Regions from separate parts of the Homo sapiens genome. Here region 1 is linked to region 2. Evidence: promoter capture Hi-C in 16 types of primary human blood cells and fetal thymus (Javierre and others, 2016). All regions are on one chromosome and are shown on one strand. Each heading gives the region's core, a stretch centred on a gene start or on the middle of the fragment in contact. The rest is flanking DNA. Distances are from core to core; before and after follow the strand shown. Region 1 has its middle 9.7 kb from the start of SNHG20. Region 2 holds the start of JMJD6 (jumonji domain containing 6, arginine demethylase and lysine hydroxylase).

Region 1 (6,287 bases), core at 869-3,368, 350 kb after region 2:
CCGGGCACAGTGGCTCACGCCTGTAATCCCAGCACTTTGGGAGGCTGAGGCGGGTGGATCACAAGGTCAGGAAATCGAGACCATCCTGGCCAACATGGTGAAACCTAGTCTCTACTAAAAATACAAAAAAATTAGCCGGGCATGGTGGTGCATGCCTGTAATCCCAGCTCCTCGGGAGGCTGAGGCAGGAGAATCGCTTGAACCCAGGAGTCGTAGGTTGCAGTGAGCTGAGATTGCACCACTACACTCCATCCTGGCGACAGAGCGAGACTCCCTCTCAAAAAAAAAAAAAAAAAAAAGAAGAAGAAAAGAAAAGAAAACAGTGGGAAAAAGAAGGCAGAGAGATTCTCCTGTCATTCTCTACCCGCAAAGTCTATTCCTGGACATCCTGGGCATCATCCCAACATATCACCATCTCCAAGTCACCAAACAGGCCAGCAACTGTAAACAAATCAAAATGGATTCGAAAGACCCTGGAAAGCCCCAGCAAGTGCTTGCAAGAGCAATATATTCTTCAGGAATGCCACCATCGATAACTGCATAGTGATAGAAAGTTGAGCAATTCTGAAGAGCCTCATTTCCATCACCCAGCAGGCATCCTTGGAGAAGCTTCTTTCAGAGTCCGACTATCAGTAAGTTATGTGTGTCTGGAAGCCCTTACAAATGAGCAGAAGAAGACAGGAGAATAAAACTTTACGATTATGCCTCTGCCGGTTTTTCTGCAAACACAGGGAGGAACAGACCCACTACAGACCATAGCCCATCGAGTGTGAAATATGAAGCCTCACGGAAGTCGGGAGCCATTAAGTATTTGTTGTGCTGACTGTCAAGGCTAGAAGCAGCATGGGAGGGGATGATGAATAAACGCCCAGCCATTACAGCAGCTCGATGAGCCTCCCGCGGCCCAAAGTTGATTCTCCATGTCATAATGAAATCAAACACTTGCCAGGAAGTCAACAGGAGAGAGAAAGGAGTTATAAAACACAGGCATGCGACTCCTTCTGTAGCTGCTGTTTTTAAAGAAAGATGCGAGAAGAAAAGAACTGTAATGAATGGCACAGTGACGCTGACATGTTGTAGAATGTGCTGGGATGGAGATTTTTCTTTGCAAGCATCACTGAGCATCCAAGAAGCTAAGAAACAGTAGATGTAGAGAGTCTTTGAAGAACCACATGCCCTAAATATCGTACTTGATGACATGTCTTCTGGGTTCAAATCCCTATATATATTGTCCTTCTGAGTGACGCTCCAGGTACAATCGAATTTTTCTGGGCAAGTATCTTTGCTTACATGTGTAAAGGTATAAAAACTACCATTTGGGCGGGGCACGGTGGCTCATGATTGTGATCCCAGCACTTTGGGAGGCTGAGGCAGGCGGGTCACCTGTGGTCAGGAGTTCAAGACCAGCCTGGCCAACATGGTGAAACCCTGTCTCTACAAAAATACAAAAATTAGCTGGGCGTGATGGCAGGTGCCTGTAGTCCCAGCTACTCAGGAGGTTGAGGCAGGAGAATCATTTGAACCCGGGAGGCGGAACTTGCAGTGAGCTGAGATTGAGCCACTGCACTCCAGCCTGGGTGACAGAGTGAGACTCTGTCTCAAAAAATAAAAAAAACCCACAGTGAATTGGGTGCTGATGAAGTGACCTGGGTAATCCATGCTGGTGACCCATGGGGCGAGGCTCTCCAGAAACATTTATTGAGCACCTCCTCTTTCCCTGACCCTGGACCAGGTGCAGTGAATACAGACGTCACAAGACCTAACCAGCAGGATGAAGTGCAGGTTCCCAGGACCCTAGCGTAGCTGGGGAGACAGTACTGTGTGATAGAGCCACAGCCAGGTGGGGTACCGGGCACGGAGGGTTAAGGAGGAAGGGGCATGGCTCTCCCTGGAGGGAAGCCAAATGGTACTTTTCAAAAAGTTGCAAACATGGCTTTCAACTATAAAATAAACGTGTAAATAATTTCATTCAACTTGTGAATTAATGAGGGAACCAATGAGATGTGGAGAGCAGTTGAAAACAGAATTTGAAAATCAGCCATATACAGATGCAGTTAGGAATGCTAGGATGGATTTGCTAATAGATACCAAGTGGGTCAGTGTCCTACGGGGCAATAAAATGTAATGTTTACAGTCATCTTTTCTATGGGACGGACACCAACTGTATCTCTGTGGGACAAAATCCATTTACATTGTTATGGACAATCATTATTTCCATTTTCTACCATTTAATGTCTCCCCTATCAGAGAATTAAAAAAGCCTGGTCAGGCTGGGTGCAGTGGCTCATGCCTGTAATTCTAACACTATGGGAGGCCAAGGCAGGCAGATCACCTGAAGTCAGGAGTTTGAGACCAGCCTGGCCAAAATGGCGAAACCCCGTCTCTACTAAAGATACAAAAATTAGCCGGGCGTGGTGGCACATGCCTGTAATCCCAGCTACTCGGGAGGCTGAGGCAGGAGACTCTCTTGAACCCAGGAAATGGAGGTTGCAGTGAGCCGAGATGGTGCCAATGCACTCCAGCCTGGGCGACAGAGCGAGACTCCATCTCTAAATAAATAAATAAATAAATAAAACAGCCTGGTCAACAGAAAGACAGCAAACAGAGTCCTGTGTAAACAGGCAATCCCTGAAACCCGGCCCTGAACCCCATGGGAAGCATGCCCAGAATCCCTCTTGTCCATCTCCAAGTCTTGGACAATTTCTCCTGACCGGGGACTATCCCAGTCTGTTCACACATCTGCAGGACCATGTAGGGCACCTCTAATCTAGCACACTGGAATCACCCAGGGAGCTTCGAAACATCCTGCTCCCCAAGCCACACCCACACCCATAAAATCAGAATGTCAGTACTTGGTACCCGGCTTCGGTATCTTTTTTTTTTTTTTTTTTTCCTTGAGACAGAGTCTCACTCCGTTACCCAAGCTGGAGTGCAGTGGCACAATTCCGGCTCACTGCAACCTCCACCTCCTGGATTCAAGCGATTCTCCTGCCTTAGCCTCCTGAGTAGCTAGGATTACAGGTGCCTGCCACCATGGCCAGCTAATTTTTGTATTTTTAGTAGAGACAGGGTTTCACTATGTTGGCCAGGCTGGTCTCGAACTCCTGACTTCAAGTGATCCTCCCAAACTGCTGAGATTACAGGTGTCAGCCACCACACCCAGCTGGCTTCAGTTATTTTCAAGCTCCCAGATGATTCTGATGTGCAAACAACGTTGAGAACCACAGCTCTGAGGACATCCAAGCAGGAACTCCAGGCTGTCCTCTACCCTCCTCCCCAGCCTTCCCACCTCTCCCTCCTCCTCGAAAGGCTTCCTTTGTGTCTTAGGGGGTAGTCACTGCAGCCTCTTCGGGCTCCTGAAACGTCCCTGCTATTTTGCAGAAGTGACTGATGGGGCAGCCCAAGGGCAGCTTTGAAACCCCCTTTTGAGTCCCAGGAGATAGCATCTTGTGATTTGCTCCACAACACGGAAGGAACCCACAGCTTGAGAGCAACAAATGAGAAGAAATCTATCATCCTCAGAAAATTGGCTCCTGGCTGTCCCGCCGAGTGACAGTAATCACAGAGGCCTCTTAAAGTGCCCGGCTAAATAAATAGTTTTAATAGTAACGAACCAGCTGCCAGCCTGAAAGCTTGTAATCATGATGCAGGTGGGCTCTGGGGCTGCCTGTATGTGCCCGCCAGCCCCTTTTGCAAGAGCATAAATCCAGGCACCATAAGGAGACACTTAAGCTCCCAGCTGGATCTTTGTACAGAAAGTATAACCGAAGATGTCTGCTTTCAGCTGCCCAGGTGAGTTTGCAGCCTGGGGAGAGCTGCAATCACAAAACTCCCCAGGCCTCCTAGTCTCACCCAAAGAGCAGCCCCAGGGAAATGGTCTGGGAGGATAGGACTGGCCATTACTGGAATTGGCCAGATATCCTGGCAGCCAAACCCCTGAGCAACCTGTAATCCCAGCACCTTGGGAGGCTGAGGCAGGAGGATCGCCTGAGCTCAGGAGTTTGAGACCAGCCTGGGCAACATAGCAAGACCCCATCTTAAAACACACACACACACACAGACAAACACACAACCTGAGTAAGTTGTTGGGCCAGAAGCCAGGGGGTGGCAGTTGGGAGTTGGGAGGAATGTGTTACAGGTAGAAAGGAATGGCCAGCTTGGAGAAATGGCCACTGGGATGACTTTGAGGACATCATTGATTCCAGCAGACCATAGGGAGCAATCAGGGATTTGGAAGCTTAAAATCTTTTTTTTTTCTTTTTTTTTTTTGAGATGGAGTCTCGCTCTGTCACCCAGGCTGGAGTGCAGTGGCGCGATCTCGGCTTACTGCAAGCTCCGCCTCCCAGGTTCACGCCATTCTCCTGCCTCAGCCTCCCGAGTAGCTGGGACTACAGGCCCCCGCCGCCACGCCCAGCTAATTTTTTGTATTTTTACTAGAGACAGGGTTTCACCGTGTTAGTCAGGATGGTCTCGATCTCCTGACCTCGTGACCTGCCCGGCTCGGCCTCCCAAAGTGCTGGGATTACAGGCCTGAGCCACCGCGCCTGGCCTGGAAGCTTAAAATATTGACCATATTTCTTGTTTCCTGGGTGGCCTCAAGCAAGTCACTTAGTCTTTCTGAGCCTTTAAAACATGGCCAGGTGCAGTGGCTCACACCTGTAATCCCAGCACTTTGGGAGGCTGAGGTGGGAGGATCACCTGAGGTCAGGAGTTCTAGACCATCCTGGCCAACATGGTGAAACCCCGTCTCTACTCAAAACACAAAAATTAGCTGGGCGTGGTGGCATGCACCTGTAATCCCATTCACTTGGGAGGCTGAGGCAGGAGAGTTGCTTGAGCCCAGGAGGCGGAGGTTGCAGTGAGCTGAGATCGCACCATTGCACTCCAGCCTGGCAACACAGCGAGACTCTGTCTCAAAAATAAAACAAAAACAAAACAAACAAAAAAAAACATAAGCACAGGGTGCGCGCAGTGGCTCATGCCTGTAATCCTAGCACTTTGGGAGGCCAAGGTGGGTGGATTGTGTGAGCTCAGGAGTTCCAGACCAGCCTGGCCAACATGGTGAAACCCCTCCTTTACTAAAATACAAAAAAAAAAAAAAAAATTAGCCAGGTGTGGCAGTGTGCGCCTCCCGAGTAGGCTGAGGCAGGAGAATCACTTGAACCTGGGAGGCGGGAGGCGGAGGTTGCAGTGAGCCGAGATCACACCACTGCACTCCAGCCTGGGTGACAGAGCAAGACTCTGTCTCAAATAAAAATAAAAATAAAAAATAACAAACTAAAACATAAGCACAACAATACCTCATCCCTAGGGTTGCTTTGAAGTTAAATGACATACTGCACAGGAAAATAACTAGCACAAAGCCAGATACCTGGCCAGCCGAGGCGATCATGCCAATTTCCTCCCTCCCTTCCTTCCTTTATATCCCAAGATTTCAAGGATTGGGCTTGGGGAGACAAAAGCTCCTAGCTCTGCGCCATCCACTGTGGCAGCCATGAGCCCCATGTGGCTACTAAGCCCCTGACCTGCGGTCAGCGTGAATTGAGAGGTGTCATAAGCAGGAACCACACACCAATTTCTGACTTAATACAGAAAAGAAAGTAAAATTGGTCTAACAGTTTTTATATGATTACATGTTATGATCATATTTTTATCTCTTAAATAAAATAAAGTTTAAAAAAAATTTTTTGAGACAGAGTCTTGCTCTGTTGCCCAGGCTTAAGTGCAATGGTGCAATCTTAGCTCACTGCAACCTCTGACTCCCAGGTTCAAGCAATTCTCATACCTCAACCTCCTGAGTAGCTGGGATTACAAGTGTGTGCCACCATGCCTGGCTAGTTTTTGTATTTTTATTAGAGACGGGGTTTCATCATGTCAGCTAGGCTGGTCTTAAACTCATGGTCTCAAGTGATCTGTCCACTTCAGCCTCCCAAAGTGCTGGGATTACAGATGTGAGCCACCTGTTTCTTTTTCTTTTCTTTTCTTTTTTTGAGACAGAGTCTTGCTCTGTCACCCAGGCTGGAGTGCAGTGGCATGATCTTGGCGCACTGCAACCTCCATCTCCGAGGTCAAGCAATTCTCCCGCCTCAGCCTCCTGAGTAGCTGGGATTACAAGCGTGTGCTACCATGCCTGGCTAATTTTTGTATTTTGAGTACAGATGGGGTTTCACCAGGTTGCCCAGGTTGGTCTTGAACTCCTGACCTCAAGTGATCCACCCACCTCAGTCTCCCAAAGTGCTGGATTACGGGTGTGAGCCACCATGCGTGTCCTTAAAATTAACATCATC
Region 2 (5,571 bases), core at 2,058-4,557:
AAAGTATGTGACACTATAGCTACATGTTACTGTCAGAGGTGAGTACCAGTTCATTTACCAGGCAGCATCCAAAGGATTTTTTGGACTCACTCTCTAACAGTTCTGCTCCAAAATGACAAAATATTGAAATCAAAGAATGTACTTTCTTTTTTTTTTTTTTGAGATGGAGTCTTACTCTGTCACCCTGGCTGGAGTGCAGTGGCACGATCTAGACTCACTGCAACCTTCGCCACCTGGGTTCACGTGATTCTCCTGCCTCAGCCTCCCGAGTGGCTGGGACTATAGGCGCCCACCACCACGCCCGGCTAATTTTTTTGTATTTTTAGTAGAGACGGGGTTTCACCGTGTTAGCAAGGATGGTCTCGATCTCCTGACCTCGTGATCTGCCCGCCTCAGCCTCCCAAAGTGCTGGGATTACAGGCATGAACCACCGCGCCCGGCAAAGAATGTACTTTCTTCCAGTTCATCTATACCTGGTACAAAGACAGTCTCTCCTGGTTTTTGTAAGATTTCCAGGGGTTTGAATTCAGGTGGCCAGGTTGGAAGCTGTGTCCGGGGATAAATAACATTAAACCAGGTAATAGCTTCGTCTTGCTGGTTCCCTCCTTCGTCTCGGGTCACTTTGATGAGTTCCCTGGGAGTGCTGGTAGGAAACAGGCACCAGCGCTTGTGGCCCTGAACTAAGGCATTCCAGGCACTGGTTCCCAGAGGGTCGATGTGAATCCCAGTTCCGGAGCGTGGTGGCCCCATCACAAACCACCTACAGAATGGAGATATCCAAGATGTGAAGTGTAATTTACTTACACACATACCACACAAAACAATAAGTTTTTAGTTTTTCTTTGAGAGTCTTGCTCTATCACCCAGGCTGGAATGCAGTGGCGTGATCTTGGCTGACAGTAACCTCTGCTTCCCCAGGTTCATGTGATTCTCCTGCCTTAGCCTCCTGAGTAGCTGGGATTACCGACGCACACCACCACGCCTGGCTAATTTTTGTATTTTTAGTAGAGACAGGGTTTCACCATGTTGCCTAGGCTGGTCTCGAACTCCTGGCCTCAAGTGATCACCTGCCTCGGCCTCCCAAAGTGCTGGAATAACAGGCTTGAGCCACCGCACCTGGCCAGGTTTTAATTTTATGTGATATGTCATCTTTATTTCAGAGATTATATAAATTCTGGTACACAGAAACACTGGGTGCATTGTTCATGGACTGATTCCTAACAAAATAAGAAAAATCAGCTGGGGCGGTAGCTCACGCCTGTAATCCCAGCACTTTGGGAGGCAGAGGTGGGTGCATCACCTGAGGTCAGGAGTTCAAGACCAGCCTGACCAATACGGTGAAACCCCATCTCTACTGAAAATACAAAAATTAGCCGGGTGTGGTGGTGGGCACCTGTAATCCCAGCTACTCAGGAGGCTGAGACAGGAGGATTGCTTGAACCCGGGAGGCGGAGGCTGCAGTGAGCTGAGATTGCGCCACTGCACTCCAGCTTGGACGACAGAGGGAGACTCCATCTCAATGAAGAAAAAAAAAAGAAAAAAAAAGAAAAATCACTAATGTGGTTTATTGCTGGACTTTATTAAAACCTCCCTTAGAGATCAGTGCTTCAACCATAGCTGCACATTCAAGTCACCTGAAGAGCTTTCAGAAATTCTGATGCGCAGGCATCACCCGAATTAAATCAGTCTCCCCAGTAGGGCCCAGGCAGGCCTCAGGAGCCCCCTAAATGAGTTCAATGTACAGCCGAGGGAGTACTCACTGTTTCCAAAAAAGATTAGCAACTGAACTCAGCGAGCAAATGCTGTTGTAGATAAGATTTTAACCACAGGCCGGGCGCGGTGGCTCACACCTGCAATCGCAGCACTTTGGGAGGCCGAGGCGGGCAGATCACCTGAAGTCGGGAGTTCGAGACCAGCCTGACCAACATGGTGAAACCCCGTCTCTACTAAAAATACAAAATTAGCTGGGTGTGGTGGCGCATGCCTGTAATCCCAGTTACAGGAGGCTGAGGCAGGAGAAGCGCTTGAACTCGGGAGATGGAGGTTGCTGTGAGCCGAGATCGCACCACGGCACTGCAGCCTGGGCTACAAGAGTGACGCTCTGTCTCAAAAAAAAAAAAAAAAAAAAAAGAAAAGGATTTTAACCACTTAGCTGCAGAATACTTTACCTGTAAGGGGGCCTGCGCTTCTCCCCAGCATACTGGAAAAGGTCATCAGTGAAAAACTTTGGCACCTTGTAGTCTTCCAAAAGTTTCCTTCTTTTAGGGTGTTCACCATAGCTGCTGTCAAAGATGTAAAGGGGACTATCATCTCGAGTGCTCTCCATGTACTCGATGTAGTATTTCATCTTCATCTTCACTGAGTAGCCATCGTTATCCTCACCACACTTGAACTTCTGGTTCCGATATTTCCTTTTTAGGCGCTCCAGAGTCCATTTCTCCTGCGCAGACCAGCCCTCTTGCGCATTCAACAAAACCACGGGCTTGTAAGGTCTTTCATACCGCTCCACAAATTCTTCCACAGACAGCTGTAAAGCATCTGCCCTTTCCACGTTATCCTGAGGGAATTAAAAAAGACCTGTCCAGTTAAAAAAAAAAAAAAAGTCCAGTGGCAGATAAGGGTGTCCCCAAGGCCAACTGGTAATGACAAACCGAAGGAAGTTGACTCTCGTCTGGCTCCTCCGGGGTGGGGGCAGGGCGCGTGCGTGAGGCCACGTCGTTCCTAGAGCCACCCCCCATGAGCCTTGACAGCCAGGTCCCCTAGGGGACCCGCCGCCCAAAGGAGTCAGGGACGACGGGCCTTCTAGTTGAGAGCGCCACAGGCGTGGGACTCCCGTCGTCCGCCAGAGCAGACGGGCGGCCACAGCACGGGAGGAAGCAGACCCGCCCCGGAATCCGCGCCTCGGGGACCCCAAACTCCGCGGGGTGCGGGTGAGCCTCTACGAGGTCCCGGGCGCTCGGGGCGAGGGCAGCCTCGGGCCCAGAGAAAGGTGCGTAGCGGCTGGAGGTGCCGATGCCCGGCCTGGCCACCCCCGCCCGACCCGCTCACCGCCACGGCCGCCGGGCTCAGCGAGAAGCTCTCGTAGTAGTTGTGCCGGGTCCAATCCAGCGAGTCCTTGAGCTCCGGCCGCGCACTCCGCTTGGCCTCGCGGATGCGCTTCTTGCTCTTGTGGTTCATTCTGCGGGGTCGCCAGCTGGTTCCGCTACGACCTCGGCGCAGCCCGCTTCCTGACACTAACGCACCCCTCCCCGGCCTGGGCGGCGGCGACGGCAGTACCCAAACGCCCTTCGCTCAGTCCCGGCGCCTTTAAAGTCGCCTTCCAGAAAATTCACTCCCCAGCCACCTCCCGAGCCTCGGGTTGGGCAAGCGGCCGCCGTCTTCCCCGCCCCGACGCCTCTCGCGGTTTTCCATTGGCTTTGGCTCCCCTGGGGTACTCCTTCACATACGGCGGGCCTCCGCCATGTTGGGAAGGTCACGTCGGCTGCGTCACCGCCCCGCCCCGCCCCGCCCCTCCCCTCCCGCGCTGCCGCTGTGCCCATCACTTCCGGTCGCGCCAGCCGCCCGTTGCCAGTTCTGCGCGTGTGAGTCTCTTTCGCCTTGCTCCGGGCTTTCTTCGCTCGCAGCGCGGCAGGGTTATCACCAGATCTGGGCTTTCCCCTTCTTGCCGTCAGGTGCTACGGCCACGTGGCCCGCGGCTTCCCGCTCGCGCAGTCTGGCAGCCCGGAGCCTTCCGCGGTCCCCCGCCCGCCCGGGGCCCAACGACGCCCTACTGGGCGAGCACGATTTCCGAGGACAGGGGGTCCGGGCCCAGCGCTTTCGATTCTCGGAGGAGCCGGGTCCGGGGGCCGACGGGGCTGTCCTGGAGGTCCACGTCCCGCAGGTGCGTGCAGCAGCACCCGCCAGGAGGCGCCTGAGGTCAGGAGCGGATGTCGGCTGACTTGGCTGGGTTCCTGAGGGACCGGGGGTGCGGACGCTCAGCTGCGCAGCTTCCTGCTTTAGGTTGACCCCCGGAGCAAAAACGTCGGATATGAAGCCCTTCGGTGCATTAAATGTCTCTCAGTAAGAATTTTGGAGACCCTGCCAAGAAGTGACCCTGGTCACTATGTTGGTCAGGCTGGTCTCGAACTGTAAGCTTAAGTGATCCTCCTGCCTCGGCCTCCCAAAGTGCTAGGATTACAGGCATGAGCCACTGCGCCGGGCCGGCTTTCTCCACATCGAATCTTTCCTGCCAGGAAAGTGACATTCTTGACTGACCTCTAATGCTTCTTTTGATCTTGTCCAAGGGTTTCTTGATTCATCCTTATCTCTCACTTTTGTGTGAGTTTTGGGATCAGGGTTTCCAGTTTTATTTGGTGCCCAAAGTGTTTCTTGGGTTGGACCTCGCTTCTTCCTCTAAGCTCACAGCTACAACAAAACTCTCAATAATAATTCTTTTTCTTTTCTTTTTTTTGAGACACTGTCTCGCTCTGGCGCCCAGGCTGGAGCGCAGTGGCGCGATCACAGCTCACTGCAACCTCCAACTCCCGGATTCAAGTGATCCTCCCGCCTGCCTAAGTGCTGGGATTGCAGGAGTGAGCCACCATGCCCTGCCTGTCTTCGGTTTTTCAAAGCACTTTCACTTTGCAGTATTTCATTTGGTTTTAACACCAGCCTGTGAGGCATGTCCCATGCTAAAGAAACAGCTTTAGAGAAGTTAAATGGGAGGCGGAGGCGGGAGGATCGCTTGGGACCAGGAGTTCCAGACCAGCCTGGGCAATATAGTGATACTACGTCTCTACAAAAAGTAGAAAAATTAGGCATCGTGGCTTGTGCCTGTAGCCCCAGCTACTCCGGAGGGTGAGGTGGGAGGATTGCTTGAGCCCGAGAGGTCGAGGCTGCTGTGAGCTATGATCAGGCCACTGCACTCAGGCATGAGCAACAGAGCAAGACATTGTCAAGAAGAAAAAAAAAAAAAAAGACTGGAGTGGAGGCTATTTCTGATTGTTTCCAAACAGCTTCACTTTTTTTTGCTAACTGCAACCTCAACCTCTGGGCTCAAGTGATCCTCCCACCTCAGCCTTTCAAGTAACTGAGACTACAGGCATTGGCCACCACACCCAATCTGGCTTCACGGATTTTTTTTTTTTTTTTTGGAGATGGAGTCTCGCTCTGTCACCCAGACGAGTGCAGTGGCACAATCTCAGCTCACTGCAACCTCCGCCTCGTGGGTTCAAGTGATTCTCCTGCCTCAGCCTCCCAAGTAGCTGGGATTATAGGCGCCCACCACCATGCCTGGCTAATTTTTGTATTTTTAGTAGAGACGGGGTTTTGCCATGTTGGCCAAGCTGATCTTGAACTCCTGACCTCAGGTGATGCACCTGCCTCGGCCTACCAAAGTGCTGGGATTACAGGTGTAAGCCACCGCTCCCGGCTGGCTTCACGTTTAAATACACTTGCATTTCTTCCTAAATGTAGGGGGTGATGATATTGCCTGTGAGAATAGAAGCCTCTTTCCTTTTTTTTTTTTTTTTTTGGAGTTGGAGTCTTGCTCTGTCGCCCAGGCTGGAGTGCAGTCGCGAGATCTCTGCTCAC

What was found. Contacts are between HindIII fragments. The CHiCAGO score rates a contact against its expected background, and 5 or more counts as called.
Region 1: a contact is called between a fragment that was not itself captured here and the fragment with the promoter of JMJD6 in region 2, in 1 of 17 cell types (endothelial precursors). The highest score is 5.5, in endothelial precursors.

The regions. Positions count from the first base shown.
Region 1 is chr17:77,075,833-77,082,119 of GRCh38, forward strand. No RefSeq gene overlaps it. Among named protein-coding and RNA genes, the nearest start is that of SNHG20, 9.7 kb to the right of the region's middle. The HindIII fragment of the contact is 3,023 bases long and covers 608-3,630 here.
Region 2 is chr17:76,723,299-76,728,869 of GRCh38, forward strand. JMJD6 (jumonji domain containing 6, arginine demethylase and lysine hydroxylase) reads right to left here and starts at 3,308. Exons shown (of 6, transcript NM_015167.3): 1 at 3,049-3,308; 2 at 2,169-2,557; 3 at 474-760. The coding sequence starts at 3,177. METTL23 (methyltransferase 23, arginine) reads left to right here and starts at 3,541. Exons shown (of 5, transcript NM_001080510.5): 1 at 3,541-3,880. RefSeq lists enhancers at 3,181-3,810, 4,441-5,069 and silencers at 3,232-3,361, 3,472-3,921. The HindIII fragment of the contact is 10,785 bases long and covers 1-4,130 here.